Linked DNA regions of Homo sapiens: all the other regions are linked to region 1. The links are contacts of gene promoters, found by promoter capture Hi-C in blood cells and fetal thymus (Javierre and others, 2016). All regions are on one chromosome and are shown on one strand. Each heading gives the region's core, a stretch centred on a gene start or on the middle of the fragment in contact. The rest is flanking DNA. Distances are from core to core; before and after follow the strand shown. Region 1 holds the start of MORC3 (MORC family CW-type zinc finger 3). Region 2 overlaps TTC3 (tetratricopeptide repeat domain 3). Region 3 overlaps TTC3 (tetratricopeptide repeat domain 3). Region 4 overlaps TTC3 (tetratricopeptide repeat domain 3).

Region 1 (4,912 bases), core at 682-3,181:
GGAGATCGAGACCACGGTGAAACCCCGTCTCTACTAAAAATACAAAAAATTAGCTGGGCGCAGTGGCGGGCGCCTGTAGTCCCAGCTACTCGGGAGGCTGAGGCAGGAGAATGGCGTGAACCCGGAAGGCGGAGCTTGCAGTGAGCCGAGATCATTCCACTGCACTCCAGCCTGGGCGACAGAGCGAGACTCGGTCTCCAAAAAAAAAAAAAGAAAAAAAAATCCATTCTCTTTTGTTTCTTTTTCCTTTTTGAGACGAGAGTCTCGCTCTGTTGCCCAGACTGAGTGCAGTGGTGAGAACATGGCTCATTACAGCCTCAGTCTCCCAGGGTCAAGTAGTCCTCCCCACCTCAGCCTCCCAAGTAGCTGGAACCACAGGCGTGCGCCCCCAAGCACAATTAATTTTTTTTTTTTTTTGAGATGGAGTTTCGCTCTTGTTGTCCCGGCTGGAGTGCAGTGGTGTGATCTTGGCTCACCGCAACCTCCACCTCCTGGGTTCAAGTGATTCTCCTGCCTCAGCCTCTCCAGTAGCTGGGATTACGGGCATGTGCCACCACACCCGGCTAATTTTGTATTTTTAGTAGAGATGGGGTTTCGCCATGTTGGTCAGGCTGGTCTCAAACACCCGACCTCAAGTGATCTGCCCGCCTTAGCCTCCCAAGGTGCTGGGATTACAGGTGTGAGCCACCACGCCCTGCCAGCTAATTCAATTTTTTTTTTGTAAAGATGAGGTCTCCTCGTGTTGCCCAGGCTCGTCTCGAACTCCTGGGTTCAAGAGACCCTCGCAATGTAGCCTCTCAAAGTGCTGAGATTACAGACATGAGCCACTGCACCCAGCCAATTTCTCTTTCTAAAAATAATTAATTTTTTTGAGACAGTCTCACTCTGTCGCCCAGGCTGGAGTACAGTGGCGCGATCTGGGCTCACTGCAACCTCCTTGTCCTGGGTTCACCCACTTCTCCTGCCTCAGCCCCCCGAGTAGCTGGGATTACAGGCGCCCACTAATATGCCCAGCTAATTTTTGTATTTTTAGTAGAGATGGGGTTTCACCATGTTGGCCAGGCTGGTCTTGAACCCCTATCAAGTGAACCCCCAACCTCGACCTCCCAATGTGTTGGGATTATAGGCATGAGCCACTGCACCGGCCTTATGCCTTTAGGACTCTTATTTATTTATTTTGAGACGGAGTTTCACTCTTGTTGCCCAGGGTGGAGTGCAATGGCGCAATCTCGGCTCATTGCAACCTCCGCCTCCTGGGTTCAAGCATTCTCCTGCTTCAGCCTTCCGAGTAGCTGGGATTACAGGCATGTACCACCACGCCCGGCTAATTTTGTATTTTTAGTAGAGATGGGATTTCTCCATGTTGGTCAGGCTGGTCTCGAACTCCCGAAGTCAGGTGATCCGCCCGCCCACCTCGGCCTCCCAAAGTGCTGGGATTACAAGCGTGAGCTACCGCGCCCGGCCCCAGAACTCTTTTTTTTTTTTTTAAATCATGAGTTAGATTGATAGTTTTCAGGGCAAATCCAAACAGTCTACATTAATTTCCGTCTTTATTTCGTTAAGGTTTCACATGGACACTGGTGGATATGGAATGGCTTTTTTCTGCGCAATTCACATCCGACCAGGTCAAGTGACTGGAGTTCACCGGTCTCGGGTATACCGCATCTCGCGCCAGGCTTCAAACTCTAGATCCCCGAGTCTCGAGCTCCAGCTGGGTGTCGAGACGGGTACGGGCCGGCCGCGCCTCGCGCATGCGCCCTAGGCCCGCAGGGCCCCGCGCTGGAAGCTCAGCTCCCACTGTACCCTGCTTTAACCAGTCAGGCAATTCATCTTCCCCAAGCTCCCAATTCGGCATTGCCTGGAGGCGGAAGTGGGTGGGAGGGGCCAGACGTGCGCCCCTCCCCGGAAGTGGGCGGTACCCATAGGGCTCCACAGTCGTTCCGCCACCTCCCAGTCGGGTTGCGGCGGAGGCCGTTCCTGGCTTTGTAGCTCGCTCAAGATGGCGGCGCAGCCACCCCGCGGGATACGCCTCAGCGCGGTGAGCAGCCGCGAGGGGTGGAGCGGGCCGTGTCCCAGGAGGGCGGGCGGGCAAGCGAAGGGGGGCCGGCAGTGGGCGGTGGCGGCTTGTGGGGCCGACGCGGCGGCGGGGGCTGCGGCGGGGCCCGGGGAGGGGGCGGCCATCTCGCTCCCGTCGGCGGAACAGCTCGGCTGCGGGCCGGGCTGCGTTCCGTCGCCTCTGCATTGTGTTTCTGTTTTGCTTCGGGGCGGGCCAGGGTCGCGGCTCCTCCTCCCAGCTCCCTCCTAGTCTCCCAGCAGCTGTCGTCCGCGGGCGAGGCCTCGGCGGGAGATCGGTCTGCTCTCGGGGCCGCGGGGCCCCTGACCCTCTTCTGTCCGCTGGGCGTCGTGGTGGGAGGGAGCGGGTTCCGCGTCCAGAAACGCCGGCGGCCTCGACGTCCCGGGGGCGGGGGGACGGGGCTGCGGGCCTGCCTGCGGGCGAGTGGAGTCAGGATGAGTGTGCCTGATGCCTGTCAGTGCCTGCAGCTTCCTTGGCAGTGGAAGCCTTGGGGCCCAGACCCTAGATCGCTGAGCTCGAGCTCTCCTCTTTATCCCGCGTTGCGTCTGTTTTGGGGCGTTTCGAGTTCTTGGAAACCCTGTGAACATTTCTTGTATCTTAAATCGTAGGGAGCGGTCACACAAGATAACTTGAAATCTCACGTCCAGGAAATGTGGGCGTGGCTTCCCCACCTGATTATCCTAAAAAACTTTTCTACCTTGTGAGCGCAGTTGATGTTATGCTGAAATGTTCCTCTTTTCTGGAGGTTGTTGACTTTTGCCAAAGAATGACTGCCCTAGTGCCACTAATTTTAACATTCGAATGGGTAGTGACTCCTTGGGGTACAAACACGTAGTGAATAATTGGTGCATTGCTCTGGGACTTTCATTCGTTTAGGCAGATTCTAACACCTGGTTTTGACGGACTTTAAATTTTTTCTAGTCCGATATTTGTGAAATGATATTTGCTTTTACTTGCGTTTCCTTGACTGTTTGTGTTGTTGAGCTCTTCGCATGTATTAGTCTTTGTGGTTTTTTGTTTTGTTTTTTTGAATTGCCTATTCATATCCTTTGACCATTTTCTGTTTTTCTTTTGGGAGGATCTTTATTGATTTGTAAGAGTTCTTTACGTATTCTGGATAAAGGTCCATCCTTTCGTTATGTAACTAGCTTATTGAGTGAGCTAGGCTTTAGTAGTTTGAAAATAGAGGACAATTTTATTCTTTTTTTCTTTTTTTTTTTTTTAACCACTGAGTGTAAACATTAATTATTCCCCACTTGTGTGAATCTGGGTTGACTAACGCTTTCCCATTAGCTTAAGGTATTGTAAAGTCTGGCCTTACCTAGTTTAAAATCTCTATTCTCTCTCCCTCCCTTTTCCCCCTCTCTTTCCCCTATCTCCTTTCCCCACTTCTCTCTCCTTCCTCTCTCGAGGTTGAGTCTTGTTCAGGCCCAGAAACCTGTAGTGGAGAAACGGAGTGAGTTGATTTCCTGTTTCTGTCCTTTGATTCTCTTCTCCCTTCCCGCCCCCAGGCCCTTGTAGACTCTGGCTCTTCAAGATTGAGGGGAGAAAGGAAGCAGAGATAATGGTCAGTGTTTAGAGACCAGCATTGTTAGCGGGCACTCTGGGTGTAGCTGCTGTCCATGTGCTGGGTCTTTGTTTTGTGGGTAATATGGGCTGTTGGGAACCTGACTGACAGAAATCTCCCATCTGCAGCCTCTTTGCTTTTGCTTTAGGTCAGGAGTTGGCAAACTACATACAGCTCATGGGCCAAATCCAGCCCAGCACCTGTTTTTGTGTGGCCTGAAGGCTAAGAGTGATTTATACATTTGTAAATGGTTGAGAAAAAAAGAAGAATGTTTAGTGACATAAAAATTATGCGAAATACAAATTTCAGTTTCCATAAAATTTTATTGGAATATAGCCAGAAACATTATTTGCTTATAGTTTTCAAATGCATGCGTTAAGAGATAAAAATTAATGAGCTTATGTATTTGTCAAAAGTCCTACATTTTAAGGCACAAAGGGTGAACCCTTAGTGTATACACTTTTTTATTTTATTTTATTTTTTTGAGGTAGAGTTTCACTCAGTCTCCAGGCTGGAGTGCAGTGGCACGATCTCGGCTCACTGCAGCCTCCACCTCCCGGATTCAAGCACTTCTTCTGCCTCAGCCTCCCGAGTAGCTGGGTTTACACGCGTGGGCCACCACACCCGGCTAATTTTGGTATTTTTAGTATATATAGAGTTTCACCATGTTGGCCAGGCTGGTCTCAAATTCCCAACCTCAGGTGATCCTCCTGCCTTGGCCTCCTAAAGCACTGCGATTACAGGCCTGAGCCACTGTGCCCGGCCCAATGTATACACATTTTAAACAGTCATTTAGGAGGTCGGAGATCCCAGGATGAAATGCAGAGTGACAAAAAGTTTTTAAATTTTTTGCTTTTTACCCCTGTAATTCTAGTGAAATGAAATGCATATACTTTGGTTTTTGTTGTTGATTTTTTTTTTCAGAAATGCTGCTGTGGATTTAGCTGATGCACACTCTTCACCACCTCCCATACTTCAATGCTTTTTTCACTTTTTTTGGTTGAATTACTATATGGTTTGTTATTACTCTTACAAATGAGCTAGCCAGGGTAGTATGATTGCATTTTCTTTCCTATACAAACCTTTTGTTTTCCCTGAAGTTAATTGATTTATATTTTGTTTTCTTAGTTTTTCTCTGTACTGATCATCCAGACATCCAGAGAACTGGGAGCTCTTTTCCAGATGGATTCAGACACACCCAGTGTTTTGTCATTTGGAAGTCAGTTGGGAGTCATCGGCTCAGTCGTAATTTGGGGACTTCCCTTTAACAT
Region 2 (4,912 bases), core at 1,524-4,023, 850 kb after region 1:
TTTTTTCCAAGTTACTTCTCTCAGTTTTTGGAGGAACATGGTCCCTTGGACATGAGTAACAAGATGTTCTCTGCAGAATATGAGTTTTTCCCAGAAGAAACTCGACAGATACTAGAAAAAGCAGGAGGTTTAAAACCTTTTCTCTTGGGATGCCCTCGTTTTGTTGTGATTGACAACTGTATTGCACTGAAGAAGGTTGCATCACGGCTCAAGAAAAAAAGGAAGAAGAAAAACATTAAAACAAAAGTAGAAGAAATTTCAAAAGCAGGGGAGTATGTACGAGTTAAACTACAACTGAATCCAGCTGCTAGGGAATTTAAACCAGATGTAAAGTCTAAACCAGTGTCAGATTCATCTTCAGCACCAGCTTTTGAAAATGTGAAACCCAAACCTGTGTCTGCAAATTCTCCCAAGCCAGCTTGTGAAGATGTGAAGGCCAAACCAGTATCCGACAATTCTTCTAGACAAGTTTCTGAGGATGGGCAACCCAAAGGGGTCTCTTCTAATTCTCCTAAACCAGGCTCTGAGGATGCAAATTACAAGCGAGTCTCCTGTAATTCCCCCAAACCGGTTCTTGAGGATGTGAAACCAACTTATTGGGCTCAATCCCATTTGGTCACAGGATACTGTACGTATCTTCCTTTCCAGAGATTTGATATCACCCAGACACCGCCAGCATACATAAACGTGTTACCAGGTTTGCCCCAGTACACCAGCATATATACACCCTTGGCCAGCCTTTCTCCTGAATATCAGCTACCAAGATCAGTACCAGTGGTGCCGTCTTTTGTAGCCAATGACAGAGCAGATAAAAATGCTGCTGCCTATTTTGAGGGTCATCATTTGAATGCTGAGAATGTTGCTGGTCACCAGATTGCCTCTGAAACACAGATCCTTGAGGGCTCTTTGGGAATATCTGTAAAGTCACACTGCAGCACAGGTGATGCTCATACAGTCCTGAGTGAGTCTAACAGAAATGATGAGCACTGTGGAAATTCTAACAACAAATGTGAAGTAATTCCAGAAAGCACCAGTGCAGTAACAAACATTCCACACGTGCAGATGGTTGCCATACAGGTAAGAGTTAAATAGAAAAGTCTTCTTAATACTGAAGTTAAATTTTCCTTTTCATTTTTCATTGCCGTTATATTTGCAAGAATCCTTAAAGTTGATTGACTTTATAATGATTACTGAAGCTTTTGCCTGAAAATACTTTTAAAATATGAACTCTTTTGTGAGGCATGACAGGTAATCTTCTCAGAAAGAAGCTTGGGTCCAATAAACAATACCCATCTTTGCTACTGAAATTCTACACAGATTGAGAAATAAGACAGCAGGTGGAGCCAAAACGTCATCCTAAGAATTAATAAAGGTGCTGGAGGAGAAGGTGGCTGTTTGTAGGAAAGTTCAAGTGCTAGCTGGAAGTGTAGCCTGCATCACAGTGCCTTACCTGCCAGTTACAGGAGGGCCCACCTGGAGGCCTTCCAGCGTGGGGTGCCTGCCCCATAGGACTTAGCGCATGAAGGAGGAAGGGAAAATGTGCTGGCAGCTCCTCAGAAAGAGAAGGAAAAAGGAAGACTCTGACCTACACAGGCCCAGCTTCTCCTGTCAAACCAGGGGAGGAATGAGAATGTTAAAAAGAGACAGCCAGGTAGAAACAAGAGGGATGTGTATGAGTTCTTTCCTAACAAGGAAGAGATGAAATCAAGATTCTCCTATGGTTGCCTTTATAGGGTATGAATTCATTAAATCCTTATTGAATTGCCCCACTCATTATGTTTTCTAGGAAGCTTTGAAAAAAATAGGTTAAGAGCAATGGATCATAATCATTTCCAGATATGCTAATTCTAAATAACTTTCCTAATATACATGTTTACGGAAAGCATGGAACATGATCTAAATGGGAAAAAAAACTTGAAAAAATTGTGGGTGTGTTTTAAAGTGTTACTACTTGATGGGCTTATTTTACTAGAGCGATTGAGATAAAGTGAATTTTATTTTTTGTTTTGCCCACAGGTATCTTGGAACATAATACACCAAGAAGTCAATACTGAGCCATATAATCCTTTTGAGGAACGACAAGTGAGTCAAAATTACATTAAACTGTTTAAAGGTTTAGTTTTCATTAATTTATCTAGATGGAATGATGAACTAGAACTATTTTGGAGTCAGCTTATTCCACACAAAGTTATCATGGAATAAGCTTGAGAACATAACAAAAAAATGATTTTGTTTTTATTGTTGAAATTTGAGAAGGGAAGGAAAAGGTAATTTTTTTCCAGCATACTTATTTCAAATTATAACAGCGTTATTGTTTTATTTTATTATTTTTAAAATTTTATTTATTTTTATTTTAATTATTTTTGAGACACGGTCTCACTGTCATCCAGGCTGGCCAGCTTTATTGTTTTAACTGGTATAATGAGCATATAATAATTTATAAGTAAGCTTATTCATGCGAATAATACAGAAAGATAAAGACCTTCTCTACTATAATAATGATTCAATTAGAAAACCTACTAATATAATTTAGTTCGTTAATATGCATCATAAGAGAAAAGTTGTCTTATCAACTCAAAGTTGCTGTAAAGGTATTGGATAAAATTCAGGTCACTGTCTTGACCAAAACTAGTAAGAAAATGGGAATTGATGAATATTTCTCAACATGCTAATATTTTAAGCCAAAAGCCATCATCTTGCTTAATGGTAAAACATCACCATTAATATTTATTGTTATCCTGGGTATATTAACTGAGAAAGCAGATATGAGAAAGAAAGAAGATAGAAAAGAGGAGATGTGAGTATCATTATTTACAGAGGCTAGGGCTGTGTACCAGGAAAATCCAAAATGATCAACTGAAAACCTACACTAACCTATATAAACCTATACTTGTATATAAAAATATATATAAACAATTACCTGTTAGAAAGTATGTTGAAAGAAAATATTTTCAATACCAAAAAAGAGATAAAATACTTAAATGTATATAAAGAAAAATTTTTAAATGCTATGGAGAGACACATAGAAGCCTTAAATGAAAAGATATTTCATGTACTTGGATAAGAACACATATTATGATAATGAGATTGGTTCTCCCTAAAGCTTTTTAAAATTTAACACAATCCCAGTATATACATGAACAGGGCAAATTAGTTATGTATATTGCTGTATATATAACAAACAACCTCAAAAGCTAGTGGCTTAAAACAGTAAAATATTTCACAATTGTGAAATCTCACAATTTCGCTAAGTCAGGCATTCAGGAGCAGTTTAGTTGGATGCTTCTGGAGATTCTCATGTAGCTAGCCAAGATGTTGACCAGGGCTTGGTCATCTGCGGGAGTAACTGGGCCCAGAGGTTCTACTTCCAAGATAGCTCACTCACATGGCTGGCAAGCGGATGTTGGCAGTTGTCAGGAAGCTTCAGTTCCTTGCCTTGTGGACCTCCACCTAGCCCTGCTTGACCTCATGGGGCTGGCTTTTCCCAGAGTGTGTGATACCAGGCAGAAGCGGCAGTGCTTTAGGAAGTCACAAATTATCACTTCTGCGCATTCTCTTGGTCACATAGATCAATCCACCAACCCTGATACATGGTAGGAGAGGTCTATACAAGGCTGTGACTAACAAGAGGCCTGGTTACTGCACAGGATTAATTTGAAACTAGACAAATTGATTTTAAACTTCATATGTAAAAATGAACATCAAGAATGGGTATGGAAGAGAAACTAAGAAAAGGAGTTGTGCAACTAAATATCAAAACACAATATAAATCTATCTATATTACCACATACATAGACCATTAATATGAGAGTGCCTGGCCAACATGTTGAAACCCCGTCTCTACTAAAAATACAAAAATTAGCCAGGTGTGGTAGCTTACCTGTAATCCCAGCTACTTGGGAGGCTGAGGTAGGAGAATTGCTTGAACCTGGGAGGCGGAGGTTGCAGTGAGCCAAGATCACGCCAGTGTACTCCAGCCTGGGCGACAGAGTGAGACTCCATCTCAGTCAGTCAATCAAGATGGTAGATTGGCTGGGTGTGGTGGCTCATGCCTGTAATCCCAGCACTTTGGGAGGCTGAGGTGGGTGGATCACGAGGTTAGGAGTTTGAGACCAGCTGGCCAACATAGTAAACCCCATCTCTACTAAAATTAAAAAAAATTAGCTGGCCGTGGTGGTGGACACCTGTAACCCCAGCTACTTGGGAGGCTGAGGCAGGAGAATCGCTTGAACCCAGGAGGCACAGGTTGCAGTGAGCCAAGATTGCGCCACTGCACTCTAGCCCGGGCGACAGTGCGAGACTCTGTCTCAAAAAAAAAAAAACAAAAAACAAAACCGAAGATGGCAAATTATCAGTGAGCAAAAACTGGATTATTAAATACATAGGAGAAATGGATTGCCATCTAGAAAAAATCAATCTTGGTCCCTACCTCATTCCTTATACCAAAATAAGTTCCAGGCAGATTAAAGATTTTAGCATAAAAAATGGACCTATAAAAGTATCCAGGAAAAAAACGGGAAAAATTTTTTGTAAGATCAGTAAACAGCATGGGAAAAAAGAATGTTTATATTCATATACACATGCATGTAATGTGTATATCCTATATGCATAGCATATGTATGACAACAAATACATACACATACACATATCAAAACACAGGAGAGAAACAAGGAAAATTATGTGCAGTGTGAAACAGATAGAGAACTAATTTCCTTAACAACAAAGTTTCTATAAATCAGTAAGGAAAAGATCAACAATCTGTCACAAAGATGAGAATGGATGTGAATAGACAATTCACAATGAAAGAAATACAGATGATTTTTAAACATATAAACAGATGCCCACCCCACTTGAAATAGGAAAAGCAATCATTCACATTTTGAAAGATAGTGAAACTGAAATTTCTGGGAAG
Region 3 (4,912 bases), core at 1,034-3,533, 820 kb after region 1:
GAACTACAAACCACTGCTCAATGAAATAAAAGAGGATACAAACAAATGGAAGAACATTCCATGCTCATGGATAGGAAGAATCAATATCGTGAAAATGGCCATATTGCCAAGGTAATTTATAGATTCAATGCCATCCCCATCAAGCTACCAATGACTTTCTTCACAGAATTGGAAAAAACTACTTTAAAGTTCATATGGAACCAAAAAAGAGCCCGCATTGCCAAGTCAATCCTAAGCCAAAAGAATAAAGCTGGAGGCATCACGCTACCTGACTTCAAACTATACTACAAGGCTGCAGTAACCAAAACAGCATGTTACTGGTACCAAAACAGAGATATAGACCAATGGAACAGAACAGAGCCCTCAGAAATAATACCACACATCTACAACTATCTGATCTTTGACAAACCTGACAAAAACAAGAAATAGGCAAAGGATTCACTATTCAACAAATGGTGCTGGGAAAACTGGCTAGCCATATGTAGAAAGCTGAAACTGGATCTCTTCCTTGCACCTTGTACAAAAATTAATTCAAGATGGATTAAAGACTTCAATGTTTGACCTAAAACCATAAAAACCCTAGAAGAAAACCTAGGCATTACCATTCAGGACATAGGCATGGGTAAGGACTTCATGTCTAAAACACCAAAAGCAATGGCAACAAAAGCCAAAATTGACAAATGGGATCTAATTAAACTAAAGAGCTTCTGCACAGCAAAAGAAACTACCATCAGAGTGAACAGGCAACCTACAGAATGGGAGAAAATTTTTGCAATCTACTCATCTGACGAAGGGCTAATATCCAGAATCTACAAAGAACTCAAACAAATTTACAAGAAAAAAACAACCCCATCAAAAAGTGGGCAAAGGATATGAACAGACACTTCTCAAAAGAAGACATTTATGCAGCCAACAGACACATGAAAAAATGCTCATCATCACTGGCCATCAGAGAAATGCAAATCAAAACCACAATGAGATACCGTCTCACACCAGTTAGAATGGCGATCATTAAAAAGTCAAGAAACAACAGGTGCTGGAGAGGATGTGGAGAAATAGGAACACTTTTACACTGTTGGTGGGACTGTAAACTAGTTCAACCATTGTGGAAGTCAGTGTGGCGATTCCTCAGGGATCTCGAACTAGAAATACCATTTGACCCAGCCATCCCATTACTCGGTATATACCCAAAGGATTATAAATCATGCTGCTATAAAGACACATGCACACATATGTTTATTGCGGCACTATTCACAATAGCAAAGACTTGGAACCAACCCAAATGTCCCTCAGTGATAGACTGGATTAAGAAAATGTGGCACATATACACCATGGAATACTAAGCAGCCATAAAAAAGGATGAGTTCATGTCCTTTGTAGGGACATGGATGAAGCTGGAAACCATCATTCTCAGCAAACTGTTGCAGGGACAAAAAACCAAACACCGCATGTTCTCACTCGTAGGTGGGAATTGAACAATGAGAACACATGGACACAGGAAGGGGAACATCACACACTGGGGCCTGTTGTGAGGTGGGGGGAGGGGAGAGGGATAGCATTAGGAGATATACCTAAGGTAAAGGACCAGTTAATGGGTGCAGCACAGCAACATGGCACATGTATACCTATGTAACAAACCTGCACGTTGTGCACATGTACCCTAGAACTTAAAGTATAATAAAAAAAATATATATATATAAACAACAAACAACAAAAAAGTGTACACCTGCCACAATAAAGCCAGTGTCCAAGACGAGTTGTGTTTAATGTATATTACTTTTATAGCAAACAGCAATAGTGACTTTGTTTTTTTAAAGAAAATTTAGGTTACATTGAATATTGCTGTTCAGTGATTCATCAAATGTATTCGTCCCAGTAAGCTTGAGATCTTTGGTGACTTTTGAAGGGAGTGAAAATACCATTTTACATCTTTAATGCCTTTTTCATAATTATGACTTTAGATTTCTAGAAGCTCTCAATCACTTTGAGAAAGCAAGAACCTTGATTTATCGTCTTCCTGGAGTGTTAACTTGGCCCACGAGTAATGTGATTATTGAAGAGTCTCAGCCACAAAAAATAAAGGTAACCATTTATTTTTGCAGAGTGTTTCTTACTGTGAATGCTTATCTGCATTGACTGACTCAGGTATCAGGAGGCGGAGAGGTAGGAGCATTCCATCCCCACCTCCCTTACACGCATTTCCCCTCTACTGTCTAATGAGAATCTCTGACATTTATTGAATGTTTTCTGTGTGCCAGTGTGTACCTTCATTTATCATTATGCTTAATCCTTATAGCAGCCCCGTGCAGGGGGGCACTGTGATCATTCCCATTTTACAGATGAGGAAGGTTAAGTTTAGAGAGGTGAAATGATGCACTCAAGGTGAAACAGCAAGCAAATTGTGGTCCTGGAACTTGAGTCCAGGCATTCTGACTTCTGAGTATGCATGATCATGCACTCTGCTGGACTTGGTTGTACTTAGAGGAAGGTATAGTATTGTTGTTTCATCATAAAGTTACCACAGTTACTGAGATGGTACTTGAAGATTTAGAAAAATATGAATTTAGTCTCATATCCAGAAGCATAAAGATGCTTTGCTTGTTCTAGAAAGACTTACGTGTGAAATGACTGAGATAGGCTTTTACTTGTAGTGAACTCTCACATGTACTCAGAACTTGATTTTGGCTGAAGCTTTTAAAATCACAGAAGTCAACTTTTACAACTCAATAATAAAAAGACAAATAATCTAAGAAGTAGTCAAAGGATCTGAATAGACATTTCTGCAACGAAGATATACAAATGGCCAAAATTAGCACATGAAAAGACATTCAGCATCATTAGCTATCAGAGAAACACAAATCAAAACCACAGTGAGATACCACTTCACACTCATTAGGATGTGGGCAGACAATAAATATTGGCAAGGGTGTAGAAAAATGGGAACATTCAGACACTGCTGGTGGTAATGTATAATGATGCAGCTGCTTTGGAAAATAGTCTGGCAGTTCCTCAAACAGTTAAACATAGAGTTACCATGTCTCAGTCCATTTGTGTTGCTATAAAGAAGTACCTGAGACTGGTGATTTATGAAGAAAAGTTGGCTTATGGTTTTGCAGGCTGTATAAGAAGCATGGTGTCAGCACCTGCTGGTGAAGGCCTTCAATAGCTCCTACTCATGTCAGAAGGCGTAGGAGAGCCTGTCTGTAGAGATCATATAGTGAGAGACAGGGAAGTGCCAGGCTCTTTTTAACAACCAACTCTTTAGGGAACTAATGGAGTGAGAACTCACTCACCCCAGGGAGGGAATTAATCTGTTCATGAGAGATTCGTCGCCATGACTCAAAACACCTCCCACTGTGCCTCACCTCCAACACCGGGGATCAGATTTCAATGTGTGGTTTGGAGGGTCAAACATTCAAACTGTAGCATACCATATGATCCAGCAGTTTCACTCCTAGGTGTGTACAGAGAAAGGAAAACATGTTCTCACAAAAACTTGTACATGAATGTTCATAGCAGCATTAGTCATAATAGCCCAAAATGGGAAATAGCCCAAGTATTCGTGAGCTGATAAATGGGTACGTAAGTATTGGAACCTGGGAGGTTGAGGCTGCAGTGAGCCTTGATTGTGCCACTGCAGTGCAGCCTGGGCAACAGAGTGAGAGTCTGCCTCAAAAACAAATGGCCAGTCTTGGTGGCTTACGCCTGTAATCCTACCACTTTGGGAGGCCAAGGCAGGAGGATTGCTTGAGCTCAGGAGTTCAAGACCAGCCTGGGCAACATGGCGAAACCCATCAATACAAAAATTAGCCAAACATAGTGGCACATGCCTGTAGTCCCAGCTACTCAGGAGGCTGAGGTGGAAGGGTCAGTTGAGCCCAGGAGGCAGAGGTTGCAGTGAGCTGAGATCGTGCCACTGCACTCCAGCCTGAGTGACAGAGTGAGACGCTGTCTCAAAAAAAAAAAAGAGTACTGATAACATGCTGCAGCATGGATGGACCTTGGAAACATTATGCTAAGTAAAAGAAGCCAAACACAAAGGGCTTGTGTGAGTCCATTCCTATGAAATCTCCAGAATAAGCAAGTCTGTATATAGTGACAGAAAGTAGACCAGTGATTGCTGGGCCTGGAAGGTTAGGGGAAAATGAGGAGGGACTGCTAATGCGTATGGAGTTTCTTTTTGAAAATGTTCTAAATTTAGACCGTGGTGATGTCAGCACATCCTGTGAATATGCTAAGAACACCGAACCGTACACTTCATTTGAGTTGTATAGTGTGTAAATTATGTCTCAACAAAGCTATTATAAAAAATACAACACAGGGATTCTTGGATTTACCTCTCTTCATACAAGATTGGGATAGAGGCATAGGAGCTATTGATAACAAAAAGCCAGCACTGGAAGCATGGCATGAGTCTCTTGGGGGCTTCATTAGCAGTGGAATAATTCTCCAGGGAGTCCACAAACAACAGTGGCAGAGCTGCAAGGAGGAAGATAATGGGAGTGTTAGGATTCTGGATGAGGTGATGTTGGGCAAGAGGAGCCTGGTAAAGTCCTCAGGATTACCCTAAGGGTTATTCTGCCTTACTTGACTTCCTCTTAATGCTTATGGAAGATTTCTGAGAGCTGTAAATTATAAAATGCGATTTGATGATTGTAACAGGACAAAATTTTGATTCTTTCGAAATTCTGAAAAAAAATTTTGTCCAGTCCTCTTTTTAAATCTCTCTTATGTCTCTTATCAGCCTTCCTTTTAAAAGGAAAAACTTTAAAAGTTGTATGTAGTTTGTTGTTGGTGAAAAAATTTAGTCATTCTTATGCTGAAAATATTTTGATGGCAAGAGGTTATTGAAATCACAAGCATTTTTATTGACAGATTAGTATTGTAATGGTATCATTTTTGTTTATTTTGT
Region 4 (4,912 bases), core at 879-3,378, 790 kb after region 1:
AACACCCCACTGTCAACATTAGACAGATCAACGAGACAGAAAATTAACAAGGATATCCAGGAATTGAACTCAGCTCTGCACCAAGCGGACCTAATAGACATCTGCAGAACTCTCCACCCCAAATCAACAGAATATACATTATTTTCAGCACCACACCACACCTATTCCAAAATTGACCGCATAGTTGGAAGTAAAGCACTCCTCAGCAAATGTAAAAGAACAGAAATTATAACAAACTGTCTCTCAGACCATAGTGCAATCAAACTGGAACTCAGGATTAAGAAACTCACTCAAAACCGCTCAACTACATGGAAACTGAACAACCTGCTCCTGAATGACTACTGGGTACTTACGAAATGAAGGCAGAAATAAAGATGTTCTTTGAAACCAACGAGAACAAAGACACAACATACCAGAATCTCTGGGACACATTCAAAGCAGTGTGTAGAGGGAAATTTATAGCACTAAATGCCCACAAGAGAAAGCAGGAAAGATCTAAAATTGACACCCTAACATCACAAAAGAACTAGAGAAGCAAGAGCAAACACATGCAAAAGCTAGCAGAAGGCAAGAAATATCTAAGATCAGAGCAGAACTGAAGGAAATAGAGACACAAAAAACCCTTCAAAAAATCAGTGAATCCAGGAGCTGGTTTTCTGAAAAGATCAACAAAATTGATAGACCGCTAGCAAGACTAATAAGAAAAGAGAGAAGAATCAAATAGACACAATAAAACATGACAAAGGGGGGATCATCACTGATCCCATGGAAATACAAACTACCATCAGAGAATACTGTAAACACCTCTACGCAAATAAACTAGAAAATCTAGAAGAAATGGATAAATTCCTCGACACATACACTCTCCCAAGACTAAACCAGGAAGAAGTTGAATCTCTGAATAGACCAATAACAGGCTCTGAAGTTGAGCCAATAATTAATAGCTTACCAATCAAAAAAAGTCCGGAACCAGATGGATTCACAGCCGAATTCTACCATAGGTACTAGGAGGAGCTGGTACCATTCCTTCTGAAACTATTCCAATCAATAGAAAAAGAGGGAATCCTCCCTAACTCATTTTATGAAGCCAGCATCATCCTGATACCAAAGCCTGGCAGAGACACAACAAAAAAAGAGAATTTTAGACCAATATCCTTGATGAACATTGATGCAAAAATCCTCAGTAAAATACTGGCAAACCGAATCCAGCAACACATCAAAAAGGTTATCCACCATGATCAAGTGGGCTTCATCCCTGGGATGCAAGGCCGGTTCAACATATGAAAATCAATAAATGTAATCCAGCATATAAACAGAACCAATGACAAAAACCACATGATTATCTCAATAGATGCAGAAAAGTCCTTTGACAAAATTCAACAACGCTTCATGCTAAAAACTCTCAGTAAATTAGGTATTGATGGGATGTATTTCAAAATAATAAGAGCTAGCTATGACAAACCCACAGCCAATATCATACTGAATGGACAAAAACTGGAAGCATTCCCTTTGAAAACTGGCACAAGACAGGGATGCCCTCTCTCACCACTCCTATTCAACATAGTGTTGGAAGTTCTGGCCAGGGCAATCACGCAGAAGGAAATAAAGGGCATTCAATTAGGAAAAGAGGAAGTCAAATTGTCCCTGTTTGCAGATAACATGATTGTATATCTAGAAAACCCCATCGTCTCAGCCCAAAATCTCCTTAAGCTGATAACCAACTTCAGCAAAGTCTCAGAGTACAAAATCAATGTGCAAAAATCACAAGCATTCTTACACACCAATAACAAACAGAGAGCCAAATCATGAGTGAACTCCCATTCGCTATTGCTTCAAAGAGAATAAAATACCTAGGAATCCAACTTACAAGGGATGTGAAGGACCTCTTCAAGGAGAGCTACAAACCACTGCTCAATGAAATAAAAGAGGATACAAACAAATGGAAGAACATTCCATGCTCATGGGTAGGAAGAATCAATATTGTGAAAATGGCCATATTGCCCAAGGTAATTTATAGATTCAGTGCCATCCCCATCAAGCTACCAATGACTTTCTTCACAGAATTGGAAAAAAACTACTTTAAAGTTCATATGGAACCAAAAAAGAGCCCACATTACCAAGTCAATCCTAAGCCAAAAGAACAAAGCTGGAGGCATCATGCTTACCTGACTTCAAACTATACTACAAGGCTACAGTAACTAAAACAGCATGTTACTGGTACCAAAACAAAGATATAGACCAATGGAACAGAACAGAGCCCTCAGAAATAGTGCCACATATCTACAACTATCTGATCTTTGACAAACCTGACAAAAACAAGCAATGGGGAAAGGATTCCCTATTTAATAAATGGTGCTGGGAAAACTGGCCAACCATATGTAGAAAGCTGAAACTGGATCCCTTCCTTGCACCTTATACAAAAATTAATTCAAGATGGATTAAAGACTTCAATGTTTGACTTAAAACCATAAAAACCCTAGAAGAAAACCTAGGCAATACCATTCGGGACATAGGCATGGGCAAGGACTTCATGTCTAAAACACCAAAAGCAATGGCAACAAAAGCCAAAATTGACAAATGGGATCTAATTAAACTAAAGAGCTTCTGCACAGCAAAAGAAACTACCATCAGAGTGAACAGGCAACCTACAAAATGGGAGAAAATTTTTGCAACCTACTCATCTGACAAAGGGCTAATATCCAGAATCTACAATGAACTCAAACAAATTTACAAGAAAAAAACAACCCCATCAAAAAGTGGGCGAAGGATATGAACAGACCCTTCTCAAAAGAAGACATTTATGTAGCCAACAGACACATGAAAAAATGCTCATCACTGGCCATCAGAGAAATGCAAATCAAAACCACAGTGAGATACCATCTCACACCATTTAGAATGGCAATCATTAAAAAGTCAAGAAACAACAGGTGCTGGAGAGGATGTGGAGAAATAGGAACACTTTTACACTGTTGGTGGGACTGTAAACTAGTTCAACCATTGTGGAAGTCAGTGTGGCGATTCCTCAGGGATCTCGAACTAGAAATACCATTTGACCCAGCCATCCCATTACTGGGTATATACCCAAAGGATTATAAATCATGCTGCTATAAAGACACATGCACACATATGTTTATTGTGGCAGTATTCACAATAGCAAAGACTTGGAACCAACCCACATGTCCAACAATGATAGACTGGGTTAAGAAAATATGGCACATATACACCATGGAATACTAAGCAGCCATAAAAAATGATGAGTTCATGTCCTTTGTAGGGACATGGATGAAGCTGGAAACCATCATTCTCAGCAAACTGTTGCAGGGACAAAAAACCAAACACCGCATGTTCTCACTCATAGGTGGGAATTGAACAATGAGAGCACATGGACACAGGAAGGGGAACATCACACACCGGGGCCTGTTGTGAGGTGGGAGGGGAGAGGGATAGCATTAGGAGATATACCTAATGCTAAATGACGAGTTAATGGGTGCAGCACAGCAACATGGCACATGTATACCTATGTAACAAACCTGCACGTTGTGCACATGTACCCTAAAACTTAAAGTATAATAATAATAATAATAATAATAATAAAGAAACTATTTCTATTTCCTAGTAATTAAAATTGTAGGGATTTGGTACACAGATAAAAGAATGAAACCAATAGTGCAGAATAGAGGGCCTCCACACAGAACCCACTATGTGAGTAAATATTACAATGTCATATTGTCTGAGTCCTTCAGATTGGCAGAAATTAAAGAGGCTGATAGTCTGGTGTTGGTGGGTATGTGTAGTAACAGGAAGCCCCAGTAAACTGGTGGGAGTGTGATTGCTTACAACCAAGTCAGGGAGCACTATAATAGACTCCACAGTTACTTGATTCTGAGTGTGTGTGCTCTAGAAAATTTCTTGCAAATGTGCACATGGTTTGATATGCAAGGTTGGTCATTGCAGCATTGTTTTAATGGCACACAACTGCAAATACCTACATGTCTATTGATAAAGCAGCAGATAAATGTGGTATTTTCACTTGATCAAAGTTGTTACTCTGACCTGTGTGATCTGTCCCCGTCTTGAACACTTGTTGTTTCTCCAACCTCACTGCTCCTGCTCTGTCCCTGGTTCACTTTATCTTGGCCTCTTGGCATCCTCACTGTTCCTCAGACATTCCAGGCCCACTTCCACTTTGTACTTGCCCTTCCCTCTGCCTAGAATGCTTTTCCCCAGAGCGTTGGCCAGCCCCCTTATTTCTTTTCAGTCGATATTGAAAGGACTCTTCTCAGTGAAACATTCCTTGGCCTCATTACTAAAATGCCAAACACCTCACTTCCTACGCATTTCTTATCTTCTTTCCTTGCTTTACTTTTTTCTTCTTAGGACTTACCATTATCTAATACATTATATCTACTGTTTGAGTTATAGTGGCTATTGTGTGTCTTCCAGTATAATATGAGCTCCACAAGGAAAGATTTTTTTGGTGTTTGGTTCACTTCACTCTTGAATCCAGACTGTCTGACAAGCTGCCTGACACTTACTTAGCAGGCACTCATTAGTAAATAATTGTTGACTTAGTGATTGAATGAATCAAATAGTAGATTGCAGTTGAATTAGCTGGCTTATCAACATTTATGGATTTTAAAAAGTTAAATGAAAAAGTCAATAAAACATAGGCTGGAAAAATATCTATCGAGTTCATGATAGTGTTTGCTTCTGGGCAGTAAGAGAGGGAAAGGAGATTGGAGAGGGTACAAAGGAGATTTCAGCCATATCTGTATCATCAGAAATAGTTTTATTTATTTCATTTAAAAATCAGAAGCAAATATAACAAAATGTTAACAGTTAATTCTGGGTATCTGTGTATTAGTCTCTGTATTTTCCTAAATTATAAAAATATTTTTTTTTTAAGTGAAGC

What was found. Contacts are between HindIII fragments. The CHiCAGO score rates a contact against its expected background, and 5 or more counts as called.
Region 2: a contact is called between a fragment that was not itself captured here and the fragment with the promoter of MORC3 in region 1, in 1 of 17 cell types (M2 macrophages). The highest score is 7.7, in M2 macrophages.
Region 3: a contact is called between a fragment that was not itself captured here and the fragment with the promoter of MORC3 in region 1, in 1 of 17 cell types (M2 macrophages). The highest score is 6.9, in M2 macrophages.
Region 4: a fragment that was not itself captured here is called in contact with the fragment with the promoter of MORC3 in region 1 in 1 of 17 cell types (M2 macrophages); the score reaches 5.0 in M2 macrophages.

Annotation. Positions count from the first base shown.
Region 1 is chr21:36,318,266-36,323,177 of GRCh38, forward strand. It overlaps MORC3 (MORC family CW-type zinc finger 3), which reads left to right and starts at 1,932. Exons shown (of 17, transcript NM_015358.3): 1 at 1,932-2,038. The coding sequence starts at 2,000. RefSeq lists a silencer at 2,056-2,515. The HindIII fragment of the contact is 27,571 bases long and covers 1-4,912 here.
Region 2 is chr21:37,165,539-37,170,450 of GRCh38, forward strand. TTC3 (tetratricopeptide repeat domain 3) reads left to right here. Exons shown (of 46, transcript NM_001330683.2): 33 at 12-1,077; 34 at 2,017-2,082. Among named protein-coding and RNA genes, the nearest start is that of TTC3-AS1, 26 kb to the right of the region's middle. The HindIII fragment of the contact is 655 bases long and covers 2,447-3,101 here.
Region 3 is chr21:37,142,564-37,147,475 of GRCh38, forward strand. It overlaps TTC3 (tetratricopeptide repeat domain 3), which reads left to right. Exons shown (of 46, transcript NM_001330683.2): 21 at 1,962-2,082. Among named protein-coding and RNA genes, the nearest start is that of TTC3-AS1, 49 kb to the right of the region's middle. RefSeq lists an enhancer at 4,775-4,912. The HindIII fragment of the contact is 811 bases long and covers 1,879-2,689 here.
Region 4 is chr21:37,111,609-37,116,520 of GRCh38, forward strand. All of the region lies in intron 11 of TTC3 (tetratricopeptide repeat domain 3), which reads left to right. Among named protein-coding and RNA genes, the nearest start is that of TTC3, 41 kb to the left of the region's middle. The HindIII fragment of the contact is 5,562 bases long and covers 1-4,909 here.